5 separate regions of the Homo sapiens genome follow, and all the other regions are linked to region 4. Evidence: promoter capture Hi-C in 16 types of primary human blood cells and fetal thymus (Javierre and others, 2016). All regions are on one chromosome and are shown on one strand. Each heading gives the region's core, a stretch centred on a gene start or on the middle of the fragment in contact. The rest is flanking DNA. Distances are from core to core; before and after follow the strand shown.

Region 1 (2,700 bases), core at 70-2,569, 290 kb before region 4:
GCCTGACCAACATGGTGAAACCCCGTTTCTAGTAAAAATACAAAAAAATTAACTGAGTATGGTGGCGGCCACCTGTAATCCCAGCAATTCGGGAGGCTGAGGGAGGAGAATTCTTTGAACCCGGGAGGCAGAGGTTATGGTGAGCCAAGATCGCGCCACTGCACTCCAGCCTGGGTGACAGAGCGAGACTCTGCCTCAAAAAAAAAAAAAAAAAAGAATGGCTGATGAAAAAGTAGAGGTCAGCTGAGCGAACAATGCCAGTGTCATCATGCCCCCTCATTAGTAGGACCATATGTAGACAATGTGAAAAAATGGGGTTCTAGCCTAGGCCCACTTACAGTGGGGCTCCCTCACACTCATTTGGTGGTCATCATCCTGGTTCCAGAATCCATGACCTGGGTGGGCACACTGAGCCACTAGCAATATCCCCACTTGACTCTGTGACTTGTGAAGTAAGAGGAGTAGTATCCTACTTATAGCAGGCGGTGGCCAATCAGAAACAACAGCACAACATAACAGGTGGAATGGCAGAGATTAAGACAATCTTCGGAGACTTTAAAGGATACAAGGGTGGTGGTCTTCATTACATCCCCATTTTTTTTTTTTGAGACAAGGTCTAGCTCTGTTGCCCAGGCTGGAGTGCAGTGGCACAATCTTGGCTCACTGCAGCTTTGACCTCCCAGGCTCAAGCGATCCTCCCACCTTTGCCTCCTGAGTAGCTGGGACCACAGGTGCGCACCCCCATGCCCAGCTAATTTTTGTATTGTTTTTTGGTAGAAACAGGGTTTTGCTGTGGTGCCCAGGCTGGTCTTGAACTCCTGGGCTCAAGTGATCCACCCACCTTGGCCTCCCAAAGTGCTGGAATTACAGGAATGAGCCACCACGCCTGGCCTATATCCCCATTTTATTACCAGTCTAGCCCCTGTAAAAACCAGATGGCTCATGACAGATGACAGTAGACTTCTACAAATATAATTAGGTGATAGCCCCAATGGAAGCTGTTAATCCAGAAGTGTCTTCTCTAGAACAGACGATCACTGTCTTTGCAAATGTGTTCTTTTCTCACACCCATCAGGAAGTAGGATCAGAAGCAGACTGCAGTCACTTTAGATGGACAACAGTGAACATTTATGGCCCTGTCTCAGGGCTACGTTACTTCTGAAAATACAGTCAGAAGAGTTCTGCTGTTACATAGAACAGCCCACTGGTCTACTTTATTGATGTCATTGTGTTCATCAGACCTGATAAGCTGGAAGTGATAAATATCCTAGACACCCTGGTAGGACACACGTGCTCCAGGGGACGAGAGAGAGACTAGAAAGATTCAGGTGCCTCACACAATGCTGCAGTTATTAGGAGTCCAGTCATCTGGGGCGTGTTGCAATATCCCCTCCAAGGTAAAAAACAAGTTATTTCGCCTTATATCTTGGCCCATGCAGAAAAAAGTGCAATATTTAGTAAGCCTCTTTGGTTTGGGAAGCAGCATACTCCATGCTTGGGATCATCTCTATGACCAACTTATTGGCTGGCTCAGTGCTGCTGGTTTTGGCTGGGGTCCAGAACAAGAGAGCGCTCTGAAGCAGATTCAGCCTAGGAGGCAAACAGGACTGCTGCTTGGGCCTCATGTCCTGGAAGATCCCTTGGTTCTGGAAGTATCTACAGTAGACAAAGACGTTACATGAAGTCTCTGGAAATTCCCTGTAGAAGCGATACAGCACAGAACCCTAGAATCCTGGAGCAAGGCCATGTCATCTGCCAGATGAAAGTATACACCATTCGAAAAGCAGCACCTTTCATGCTAGGGGACCCTGACCCTGGTGAAAACTGAGTGTCTCACATGGGACATCAAGTGATGCTGACACCAGAACTGCCTCTTAGGAGCCAGCAAACCACCAGACATACTGTTGGTGATTCCAGCAGGATTCCACCGTATGATGGGAGGGAGCAGTGTGTTTGAGATCAGGCTTGAGCTAGTACAGAGGCCACAAGTGAGCTGTCAAACCCAGCCACCCAGACCCAATGCTACCTAACCCTCCTGCGCTATACTGAACAGCATCCCCCAAATTCATGTCTACATCAACCTCCGACTGTGACTTTATTTGGAAATAGGGTCTTTGCAGACATAATTAGTTAAGATTGGGTCATACTAGATTAGGGTGGCCCTAAATCCAATGAATGGTGTCCTTACAAGAAGGCCATGTGGGGGCCAGGCACAGTGGCTTACACCTGTAATCCCAGCACTTTGGGAGGCCGAGGTGGGTGGATCACTTGAGGCCAGGAATTGGAGACCAGCCTGGCCAACACAGCGAAACCCCATCTCTACTAAAAGTACAAACATTAGCCTGGCGTGGTGGTGCAGGCCTGTAATCCCAGCTACTTGGGAGGCTGAAGCACAAGAATTGCTTGAACCCAGAAGGCGGAGGTTGCAGTGAGCCGAGATCGTGCCACTGCGCTCCAGCGTGGGTGACAGAGCAAGACCCTGTCTCAAAAAAAAAAAAAAAAAAAAAAAAAAGAAGAAGAAGAAGAGAAAGGCCACGTAGAGAAGGAGGTAGAAATGGGAGTTACGCTGCCACAAGACACATGAAGACCCCAGAAACTAGAGGAAGCACAGCATTCTCTTCTAGAGCCTTTGGAGGGACTTTTGCCCTGTTGTCACCTTAATTTCAGACTTTCAGCCTCTAGATCTGTGAGATAATAAAT
Region 2 (2,700 bases), core at 99-2,598, 320 kb before region 4:
ATTTTGGTCAACTCACACACTCCCCTCTGCCATAAATTCAAGCTCCTGCTTGCTGAAAACACATTACCCTGAATGTTCCCGCATTTCACTGAAAGTCCCTCATCTTAAAGATGACATCATTCATAATACAGGAAACCCTCCTGGTTCAGAGTTTCACAACTTGAGGTTTCAAATATTGTACACCAATAGTGAAGCCACGCGGCCAAAGGGGGGAGAAATATATTCCTTGGTATGTCTTTCTCATTAACACCTTGTAACTCCAAGTGTGACTGTAGGTGTTAAATCTCTCTTGCTAATACCTTGTATTTGGGCTTATAATTGAGGATCTTTCTCCACCTACTACAGATACAGAGGTTAGGTATGTGTTCAGCCCTATCTAGATTGGCCTTCCTTGAGGGCCTCACACAGGTTGAACCCAATCAGCACATTCCTAAGGACTACTGTCTTGGCCCTTTTGTTTATGGGGTTTCGTGCTATCTATGTCTAGTCTAGAGCATAACCTGGAATATATTAATATTTCAGTGTGCCTTAGGTAGGGGATCCCGATTAAAAACAGAAGTCAAGGTAAGACTCTTCCAGGGCTGCCTCAGAAGAGGGGTTGATGGCATTTGCAAATGTCTGCCGTACCGAGATACTACCTGCCCCTCCTTCCACCTCCTCTGCCTGCCAAGGTAAGGATGAGACCTGTGACTGGGGAAACAGAGGCAAGGAGTCAGGAAGGTGGCCAATCTGTCCATCAAGTTTGTCATGAGAGAAAGAGCACCGGCCTTGGAGTCAGACCAGACTTTGAACCCTACTCCCACTTCTTACAACCCGAGTAACCTTGAGAAGCTACTTCCATTCTTGGAGTCTCTGTAAAATCAACAATATTCATTTTTTATTAATTCCCTGCTATGTGCTAAGTGCTGTAAATACCATGATGGATACTATAAGCCAGTTCTTGCCCTCACATTCCCCTCTCCGCAAATAAACACAGAAAAAAATGAACCTTATTGCTGGCCCAGTGAACATAGTAAATGTTGTTATAAACTGCCTGTTGTTCTTAATTTGGTGGTTGTCAGTCAGGACCAAAAACTCCTTTGCATAACAACTGCACTTAGAGGCAAAGTGCCACTTTGACTGGTTTTCAAAGGAATAATTGTTTATGTTTCCATGCTAAAGTGCAAACTAGAGAAAACTCTTTTTAAATCTTAAGTAAGGGATGACTGTAAGTCTGCTAAACCACAAAAAAGTCACAATGAAAATTCTAGAAAAAAATAAATATGTGGTCTTATCAATACAGTACAGGTTGAGCATCCCTAACCTGAAAATTCAAAATCCAAAATGCTCTAAGATCTGAAACTTTTTGAGTGCTGACACTCCCACAAGTGGGAAATTCACACCTGACCTCATGTGATAGGTGCACAAAATTATGAAAAATATCCTGTCAAACTACTTCCAGGCTATGTATGTAAGGTGTATATTAAACATAAATATATATTGTGTTTAGATTTGGGTCCCATCCCCAGGACACCTCATTACATATATGCACATATTCCCAAATCTGAAAAAATCCAAAACCTGAAACACTTCTGGTCCTAAGCATTTTGGAGAAGGGATATTCAACCTGTATATACATTTTCGTATGTATGTTAGAGCATGAGGTCAGTTGTTTGTGTTCCATGAAGGGCATACAGACTGCAAATTGACATGACAGAGCACTCCTATCAGAAAAAAAATCAGGATCCCTAAACAGCGTTTTTGTTATGAGTTGAAGCCACCAATTACTTTGTCATTATACATCTTCAAAATTACAATGAAGGGCCGGGTTTGTTGTAATGAACTCACTCCTGTAATCCCAGCAAAGTGGCAGGCCAAGGTGGGAGGATCGCTTGAGCCCAGGAATTTGAGACCAGCCTGGGCTATGCAAGACCCAGTCTCTGCAAAAAAAAAAAAAAAAAAAAGTTTTAAATGAGCCAAGCATGGTGGTGCATGCCTGTAGTCCCAGCTGCTCAGGAGGCTGAGGAGGGAAGATTGCTCGAGCCTAGAAGGTTGAGGCTGTAGTGAGCTGTGACTGCACCACTGCACTCCAGCTTGAGTGACAGAGGGAGACCCCATCTCAAAAAAAAAAAAATCTTTTTTTTCAATGAAGATCAATAAGGAAATGTTAACATGGCATATGCACAAAGCTGGGTGTTTTGCCGTTTTTTATTAATAAATATTTGTTGACTAAATAAATGAGTTAATAGAAAATCATTGTTCTATGCCAAATTGTTTGGAGCATCTAACTCATAGAGAGAAGTCTTTGTCTGTGAACTCTGGTTCTACTTCCCTATCCGCCTCCTTTTTCTCCTTGCAATTCATAGACCTGGAGAGACATTTGATAAGTGAGACATTGGGGCTGGTGGGTCAGGGAAACAAGAGTGAACAGTATCATTTTAAGGAGGCATGGATCTCAGTCCTAGGATTTGGGGCTTGGCCTGAAAATGACCATCTCTCGTACAGCAGAGCTGAAGGCGGAGGGGAAGGCTGTCTCCTCTTTCCTGGTGTGATGCCTCTCCCCATGACTTCTTTGCTTCTACAGAGCTGAACTTGTAGCCTCTTTCATACACAACTGGTTGAAGTGGATGGAAATTACATGTCTTATTGCTTCTTAAAAGAAAAAAAAACATATTAAATCTAAAAGAAATGGGCAATTTTCTCGTACCACTTTCTATTTCT
Region 3 (2,700 bases), core at 50-2,549, 340 kb before region 4:
TTGGGAAGGCACAAGGTATGGCCACATGTGCGCTGGCCTTGGAGGGGCTCCCGTGACCTCTTCTCCCCCTTGTGACCAGGCTGCTCCAGAGCTGGGTTTCACGCTGCTTGGTGTTAAAAACAATTACATGTAATTGTTTCTTTTATTTCCCCCTTGAGGGCAGAGCCCAGCCTAGGTTCTTTGTAACTCCCCCAGAGTCTAATGTGATGCCATGAACATAATGGGTGTTAAATATTTATCGAATGAATAAAGGAGGAAATGCAGATTCCAATTATTGATGGTGACGTTCGGAAGTACTGGAAGTCCTCTTAAATTCAAATATCAGAAATATGCTCTCCCATCTAATAAATACTTTTGGATGGTGCTGGTATTAATATTCAGAACTGCAGAGCCTCTGCATCTGTTATGAAACACTATGATAGCGTCCTCTAAGAACTGTCACGCTCACTGCCATGAGCTTCCTCTACTTCATCCCAGGCAGTTTGGGGCAAAATTTAACAGTATAGGTCTGGATTCATTAGTGAAAATTACCATATGAAACAGATTCTCTTGGGCAGCATCTGACATCCCTGTGTACAGAGGGCGATTTATAGAAATAATGCACAGCATTATAAACAGACTTCCTTTCTTTTAACCAAAAAATCACAAGATGAAGAATGTAAAGCTTCTTGTTAAAAAATATATATATATGAATATTAATATTAAAAATAAATATTAAATATATATCATATCTGAATATTAATACCAGCACCATCAAAAAGTATTTATTAGATGGGAGAGCATATTTCTGATATTTGAATTTAAGAGGACTTTCAGTACTTCCCAACATCACCATGAATAACTGGAATCTGCATTTCCTCCTTTATTCATTTGATAAATATTTAGCACCCATATATATATATATATATTTACATATATATAAAGCTACTGGGCAATATGAACAGTAGTGTGTCGGGTACACATGAGACTCTAAAAGGAACAATCCAAAATCCCACATACGCAAAAGTGGACACTGACAAGCAGGAAACTCAAGTGTTCGGTGGAGGGTGTAAGATCAGCCCCACCCTGGTCTCTCTTGCTGGTTCCCGTACCCTTCCCCAGACCCCCTCAGCCCTGTCTTATGATCACAGGCTTGCCCGACCCGCACCTGCGGGGCTGAGGAGAGAAGCCCCAACCCAGAGGAGCACCTGAGGCCGCAACCCAGCCCTGCCCCCTTCGTAACTCCCAGCTGCCGCCTGTTGTGGTCCTGAAATCCAGCTTCACCTTTGTGGCTGACACTCGTCTATCAGCTCCAGGATCTCCATAGCCCTGAAACTCTGAACCTTGCTGTCCCCCAGGCCGCCCTGTACCTCCTTTTGGGCCTGTCCTGAGGAGACAGGACTCAGCCAGGCCTCAGCCCCCAGACTGTCCTCAGAGAGGAAACTAGGGAAACTAACTTGATGACTTCCTCCAATTTGTTTAAAGCAGGTGGGTCAGAGTAAAGTTTGGGGATTCATTTACTTGTGTCGACTGGCCATCGACACTGATCAAATAACAGGCACCTGCCAAATCCACTTCAGGCCACAAAGAGCACTCGATGACTGCCTGGCCTGTGACGAGCTCATGCCTGCCCTGGCTGGCCAGACCACCACAGGCCAAGCATCCTCCCCTCTGTACTCTCCACCTCTGCCAGCGAGTGTGGACAAAGAGCTTTGCAACAAGGGCAGCACGAGGGCTCAAGGTCCAATTTGCTGCTTGGAAGCCGGATGACCTTCGACAGGGTGGCTGAGCGCTCTTGTAATTTGCAGGAGTGACAGTGGATCTGAGAAAGTGCATTTCCAGCTAACTAAATAAAAGCAATTTAAAAAATACCAAGTACATCCGATGTCTTTGCTTTTTTCCTAAGGTTTCCAGTTTCATTCCTCAATCCTCCAGAACAGGTGACTTTCTCTAAAACAAGCTTTCACTATCAAAACACGGCCTCCTCTCCCCAGGCAAACACAAGGCCGTGCTCCCAGCCCCTTCCTCCCTCCATCTCTGAGGGCTCCCGCTTCTCTCTGCTCGTTTTTCTTCTCCTGTAAGCATGCATACTTAGTCCTTAGTCTAGAGAGGTCATCTTGTCAGCCTTTTAGGATTCTTTTTTTCCTCCTTTCAAGATGAAATCATCCTATCTACAATTGTTACTATAATTTATTTTTAAAATAATTGTCTTCTGACTTTGTAAGGCATACATAATCCCCAGTTTTCTCTAAAATAATGTTTTTCAAACTGCAGGTCATGAAATCAGTTCAATGAGTTACACCAGCTTTTTCTTCTGTTTTAATGAAATAGGTAAGAAGGGAAGGATAGAGGTCAGAATGGATCCCGCATACAAGGTTAAATACTATTCCTAAAAATTATGTTTCAGGTGTCAACTGTGTTTGCTGGGTCACCATATATCTGCCAATTTCCGTGGTGTAGACATTTTTTCACACAGCCAATCTCCCACTCCCAACATGACGTGTACTTGGGAAGCAATGCGCACAGTTGGCTCTGATGACCTGATGAGAGCCAGCTCCACAGGCCACAGGAGGGTCTCGTCATCATGAAAACCCAAGGTCTCTTCTGGCCTGGAACCTTTTGATTCACCTGCTCTCTTTGGACTCCTCTCTATTCTAAAACCTCTCAGGACCACCATACACTTGTGTTCTCTTTCTGCTTTACTTTTCTGTAGGTCCTTTT
Region 4 (2,700 bases), core at 99-2,598:
CCTGGTCGACAGAGCAAGACTCTGTCTCAAAAAAAAAACAAACAAACAACAGAAAAAAACTTAAGGCTCTAACTTAATATATGGAAGTAAGTTTCTAACCCTTGTGAGAAGACCTTTATTAGTTTGTGACTAAACCAGGCGTGTGCTGCTTTTCTGATCTGTCCAATTTTAGAATTGTTATTACCAAAGTATATATTTGACAACAGGAAAAATATATTTTATCAGTTTGACAACAAATATTTATTGATCATCTGCTGTTTGCTTGGCATGGTTGTAGATGCTTGGGATACAGCTGGTGGGTTGCAGCTTACTTTCCCACGGAGGACAGACAGTGTACACGGAGAATTTCAGCTCCTGAAAAATACTCTGGTCTAAATAAAACAGAGCCGTGGCAGGGGCAGGGGGGCTAGAGAAGTCCTATTTGAAAAGATAACATTTCAGCTAGCATTGGAGGGACAGGGAGTCAACTGCGGGAGATCTGGGGAGAGCTTTCCAGGCAGAAGGAACTGCCAGGACATCTGAGGAACGGAGGGGTGGGCAGTGGCCCTTGGCACAGTGAATGAAGGAAAAACACACACTTTTATAGAGATGCCATGACTTGGAGTTCTTATTCTGCCCATTTTGGTTGGAGACAATGATGATGTCCAGCTCATAAGAATGTTGCTAAGTAAGGTAATGAAGGTAAATAGTAGTAATAATACACATCACTGATAGTTTTAAACATCATTAATATGCCTTCCACAGAATTTATGTGAAGGAGAAACTGATAAAGTAAATGTTACTTTAACTCATGGCTTTGTTTATGTGTTTGTTTACTAATTTATTATCTTTTAAAACTGTAGACTGTGTTGCTAATTATCTGCAAACATTAATGTTTATGTTGATTTCTCTTTAAAGGTTAAAAAGCTAAAGAGAGAGCTCTCACAGATGAAGCAGGAACTGCTCTATAAAGAACAAGGCTTTGAAACATTGCAGCAGTGAGTATGAAAAGACTGAATCAACTTTAGAATAAGCTCCCTAACTAGTATGAATACAAAGAAAATAGAAGTACAGATTACATAAGCGATTTCTTAAAGAAACGTAAAGTAAAAAAGTTCAGAGCTCTACACCAAAAGAAAATAAAGCAATCAACCAACAGATAAAAAAACTTGGGAAAGATCTATGCACTTGAAAAGATCCAAAGTTTTTATTAATCATTGGAGATCCAAAGAAACCAAAGTGAAAAGCCTTTGTCTTACCTTTATCTCCTGGACCCTTGCTGGCCTCCTCTGAGATTGTGGTACAGAGCTAAGAGACTAGGCACAAGAAATTCCTCTCCACATTCGGCTGGGCTGGCTGTACTTGACCCCTGTGTGAGCCTGCAGCTGCCCTGGGCCCTTGGGTGGAGGCGTGTCTGTCTCTCTCTCTCTCTCTGCCAGCCCCAGGGATGACCTAGAGTCTAACCCTGACAGATGGCAGGGGAGCAAGAGCAAGTTAGGATTATTAGCAAAGGAGCGGGAGTGCGCTCCTCACTTCCTGGTTCCTCTACCTTTCCCGTTTGCTACTGAAGTTGGCTGGGCCGTTAGCAGAGCCCTAAGCTGGGCCAGGTAAAGTGGAAATGGAGGTGACAGAGGGTCACAGGATGAGGATATCCCTTCCGCATTCCCGGCCCCTGAAAGCCACTGTTCTCCCTGCTGCTGAGGCCCAGCCTATCCAAACCGTGACAGGCACACCTGAGACTTTCTAATCCTGCAGTCTCCACTCCACAGGGCCTCTCATGGGAGAGAAGCAGTCCATGGTTTTCACAGCCACATGACCACGGAGAGGAGTTAAAACTTCCCTCCTGCTTGGTGCCTCCAAGTGCGGTGCAGTATTTTTAGGGATGTCCCTGGTCAGTTTTGTGTTCAGGCAGGTTTCGTGTTCTTCCCGGCATCTCCCGTGGTAGCACCTCAGGAATGCCAAGCTGGTCTCAGGCGCCACCTCTGTGGAAAGTACCCAGCTGTGTTCCTTTTCCCTGTGGAATCTTACTTTACCTTCTGCTCTTATTTGGGATGCTCCAAGCAGCAAGCCCCTTTAAAGATCCTGTGTGTCACTGGCCAGATAAACAAACTGGTTGTTCTTGTTTGGGTGATTAGTCATATCTTGGGATACGCAGGCACTGCTCTTGACCACCAGTCAGACGCATGACTTTAATTTCACACGTGCTGTTATCATCCAGACTCCTTTTTTCCTGCTTACCGCATAGAATCATGACCCTGATACTCCTTCAGATGCTCCCATCCTAGTGGTTCTCAAACCTGACTGCATATTAGAATAATCTGGAGAGTGCTTAGAAAAATAATGTTTCTAGTCTCTATGCCAGGTATATTTTATGAGATCCCAAGTGCTTCTCAAGTCCAGCCCTGTTGTAAGAACCTCAGCTGGTTGCAGAGCTCCCCGATAAACCAGGCAGAACTAGAATGACATAAATGCATTATTTAGTAATTGTTTATCAGCATAAAGCAGGGCTTCGTGGTGGGGGTGGGGAGAGAAAACAGAGTTTGAAGAGTGCCGTAACGTGTTTAGCCATATGTTCCACATTTTTAAGGCACATGAAATTATAACTCGCGTCACCATTTGGGATTAAAGGTTAGCCAAACTTGCTGTCTTTGTTATATTGATGTAACAATGCTGTATTGTTTCAAAGCAGTTTGCTTGCAAGCAATTTTTATAGGAATCTAA
Region 5 (2,700 bases), core at 114-2,613, 300 kb before region 4:
TTTGACCCAGCCATCCCATTACTGGGTATATACCCAAAGGACTATAAATCATGCTGCTATAAAGACACATGCACACGTATGTTTATTGCGGAACAATATTTCTTTGGAATCAACTAGTGTCAGAGTTACTTCCTTAGGCCCATACCAGACTCACCCACATCTGTTACAGCCTGACCATACAAAAGGATCCCTTTTGCTCTGGGAGTACCTTGCATCTTGGTCCTCCAAGAAAACAGAAGTGGCACACGCATCCACCTCTTCTAGAAACCAGGTGCCCTGGTTGGATAGGATGTTTTCTTGTTGAGGTAGGCTGCACTTGCATGGGAAAAAAAAATGGCATGGTGACCTCTTATGCTCATTCTAAACCAGTTGGAATAGTTCCAGGGGAATCCAGCCTCACAAAACTGACCTTATTAGGTGCCAATTGGTATGTATTGGTCATGAGATAGATGAGAGGCAGGGCAGGATTGTTGTCCAGGTAGCGATGGGAAATTGAGTAGGGTCCATTCTGCTTGGCTTTAGCCATCCACACTCTTAATATGCCAGCCTAAAGATTATTGTCTTGCAACCTTCTGTTTATTATTGAACAATAAACTAAACATACTATGTGACAATAACTTCCCTGGGGAAGGTTTATTCCAGTGAATGATGTAGCTCTTGGCTCCATACTTCCTCAGGAGTTCCAGATGATTCCATTCCCTGAATTTCTGCCCATCACTCTGCTCTCCCACTTACCATAACAGATGGTGGAGAAGTTCCTGTACCCAGAAAGCTGTTACTGCAGCTTCCTCTCACATATTGCCAGTCTGGCTGCCCATGGACAGACTGATATCAAGAAGGAGACAAAGGAGAGGTTGCAGGAAAGTAAGAGTGATCAAGAGTCAAATATGGCCAGGTGCAGTGGCTCACGCCTGTAATCCCAGCACTTTGGGAGGCTGAGGCGGGTGGATGACCTGAGGTCAGGAGTTCGAGACCAGCCTGGCCAACATGGAGAAACCCCATCTCTACTAAAAATACAAAAAATTAGCAGGGTGTGGTGGTGCATGCCTGTAATCCCAGCTCTCAGGAGGCTGAGGCAGGAGAATCGCTTGAACCCGGGAGGCGGAGGTTGCGGTGAACCGAGATCGAGCCATTGCACTCCAGCCTGGGCAACAAGAGCAAAACTCCATCTCAAAAAAAAAGAGTCAAATATGGCAGAGGCTGTCATAGAGCAAGAGAGCGTTCCATCTTCTAGACGCTCCACTCAGAGGAACCGAGAAACTTGAGCTTGCACTTCTAGAGCACTGCAGGTCTCCCCAGGAACCCTCAGGAATAACCACCTTCTCCCCAGCCTTGACCATGAAGGAAAGTTCAGTGGGATGAACCCCAACAGGAAGGCAGGGGGCAGAAAAAAGAGAGAGAAAGTCTGGGAGAAGTTCTTCCAGACACACAGCTCAGCTGACTCTGAGTGAGATTATTAAAACCAATGAGAAAGAATGGAAATCACTGGCACCACCCTTTGGGCCAGCTGTCTTGAAAGCGTGCTCCATAGACCAGTGTCTGTCTTTGCACTGCATGTTGAGTGTGTGTGAAAAGTACAGACATTGAAAGTAACCGTTTAGAAACAATTAAAGCAATCGGACAGAGTAATTCTCTGTCTATTGAATCTAATAATAAAAACCTGGGACCTGTATTTTGTATGTCTTCATTTTTTTTCTAGAAATCCCTTGATCTTATTTGACAAAAAATATAGATTCGGTACAGATCGTGGGGAAATCCCAGGTCCTCCCTCCCAGACTATTTGAGAAGCACTGTTTAAGACTAATGTTTGTAGTGAAGTCACAGTGAGAGCATGTTCTTTCTGATGCAAACACACCCACCTCCTGCCCTCGTGTCCTGCAGGCTGACCTGAGAGCCAGCTGCATAGCTCAAGCCACAAAGGAACCTAGTTTTTGGAAAGGGTGAGTATGAAAATAATACAAGGTAAAGAAAAGAATGTTACTTAAGATCTACTTATTATCTAAATCCTGCCCCCTTTTCTTAAAGACTGGAAAGACAAAGAAAAATTGGATATGTTTAGAAGTAAATTACCTCCCAGGCAGCAAGAGAGATTTAGAGGCTGGAGGTAAAGTATCTCTTTCTTAAAGTTCAAAGAGTGTGACAAAAAGGTAGATATAGAGACAGATGAGAAAAAGAGAACAGAGAATGAAAGAGCTCAAAGCAGCCCTGTATTAGTTTGCTGGGGTTACCATAACAAAATACTACAGACCAGTGGCTTCAACAACAGACGTATTTTCTCACAGTTCTGGAGGCTGGAAGTCCAAGATCAAGGTGTCGGCAGGGTTGGTTTCTCCTGGGGTCTCTCTGCCTGCCTTGCAGACAGACAGCTGCCTGCCTTGCAGACAGACAGCTGCCTTCCCTCCCTGTCCTGACCAGGTCTCTGTTGTTTGTCTTAATTTCTTCTTTTAAGGAAACCTGTCATATTAGATTAAGTCCTAACCATAAGACCTTCTTCTACCTTAATTACCTCTTTAGAGGCCCTATCCCCAAATACAGTTCCATTAGAGGTTAGGGCTTCAACATGTGAATTTTGGCGGAAGGGGACACAACTCGGTCCTTGACAGGACTCAGACTTCAAGGACACTCAGGGTTGTGCTCAGCGTGGACTCCAGGGGGCAGCAGAGATTTGCAGCCGGCCTGGGCAGAGGGCAAGGCCACACT

Evidence for each region. The method cuts DNA at HindIII sites, captures the fragments that hold promoters and counts their contacts. A CHiCAGO score of 5 or more calls a contact.
Region 1: a contact is called between a fragment that was not itself captured here and the fragment with the promoter of WWC2-AS1 in region 4, in 2 of 17 cell types (megakaryocytes and erythroblasts). The highest score is 8.5, in megakaryocytes.
Region 2: a fragment that was not itself captured here is called in contact with the fragment with the promoter of WWC2-AS1 in region 4 in 4 of 17 cell types (megakaryocytes, erythroblasts, M1 macrophages and 1 more); the score reaches 16.5 in megakaryocytes.
Region 3: a fragment that was not itself captured here is called in contact with the fragment with the promoter of WWC2-AS1 in region 4 in 1 of 17 cell types (megakaryocytes); the score reaches 6.0 in megakaryocytes.
Region 5: a contact is called between a fragment that was not itself captured here and the fragment with the promoter of WWC2-AS1 in region 4, in 10 of 17 cell types (megakaryocytes, erythroblasts, M1 macrophages and 7 more). The highest score is 34.0, in megakaryocytes.

The regions. Positions count from the first base shown.
Region 1 is chr4:182,952,755-182,955,454 of GRCh38, forward strand. No RefSeq gene overlaps it. Among named protein-coding and RNA genes, the nearest start is that of DCTD, 37 kb to the left of the region's middle. The HindIII fragment of the contact is 3,427 bases long and covers 1-2,700 here.
Region 2 is chr4:182,919,041-182,921,740 of GRCh38, forward strand. No RefSeq gene overlaps it. Among named protein-coding and RNA genes, the nearest start is that of DCTD, 3.0 kb to the left of the region's middle. RefSeq lists an enhancer at 261-310. The HindIII fragment of the contact is 2,831 bases long and covers 1-2,700 here.
Region 3 is chr4:182,896,618-182,899,317 of GRCh38, forward strand. All of the region lies in intron 3 of DCTD (dCMP deaminase), which reads right to left. Among named protein-coding and RNA genes, the nearest start is that of DCTD, 19 kb to the right of the region's middle. RefSeq lists an enhancer at 1,012-1,512. The HindIII fragment of the contact is 1,275 bases long and covers 663-1,937 here.
Region 4 is chr4:183,239,286-183,241,985 of GRCh38, forward strand. WWC2-AS1 (WWC2 antisense RNA 1) reads right to left here and starts at 1,349. Exons shown (of 2, transcript NR_126473.1): 1 at 1,239-1,349. It overlaps WWC2 (WW and C2 domain containing 2), which reads left to right. Exons shown (of 23, transcript NM_024949.6): 5 at 898-977. The HindIII fragment of the contact is 11,540 bases long and covers 1-2,700 here.
Region 5 is chr4:182,935,641-182,938,340 of GRCh38, forward strand. LOC105377577 (a long non-coding RNA gene) reads left to right here and starts at 1,785. Exons shown (of 3, transcript XR_939536.3): 1 at 1,785-1,940. The HindIII fragment of the contact is 5,264 bases long and covers 1-2,700 here.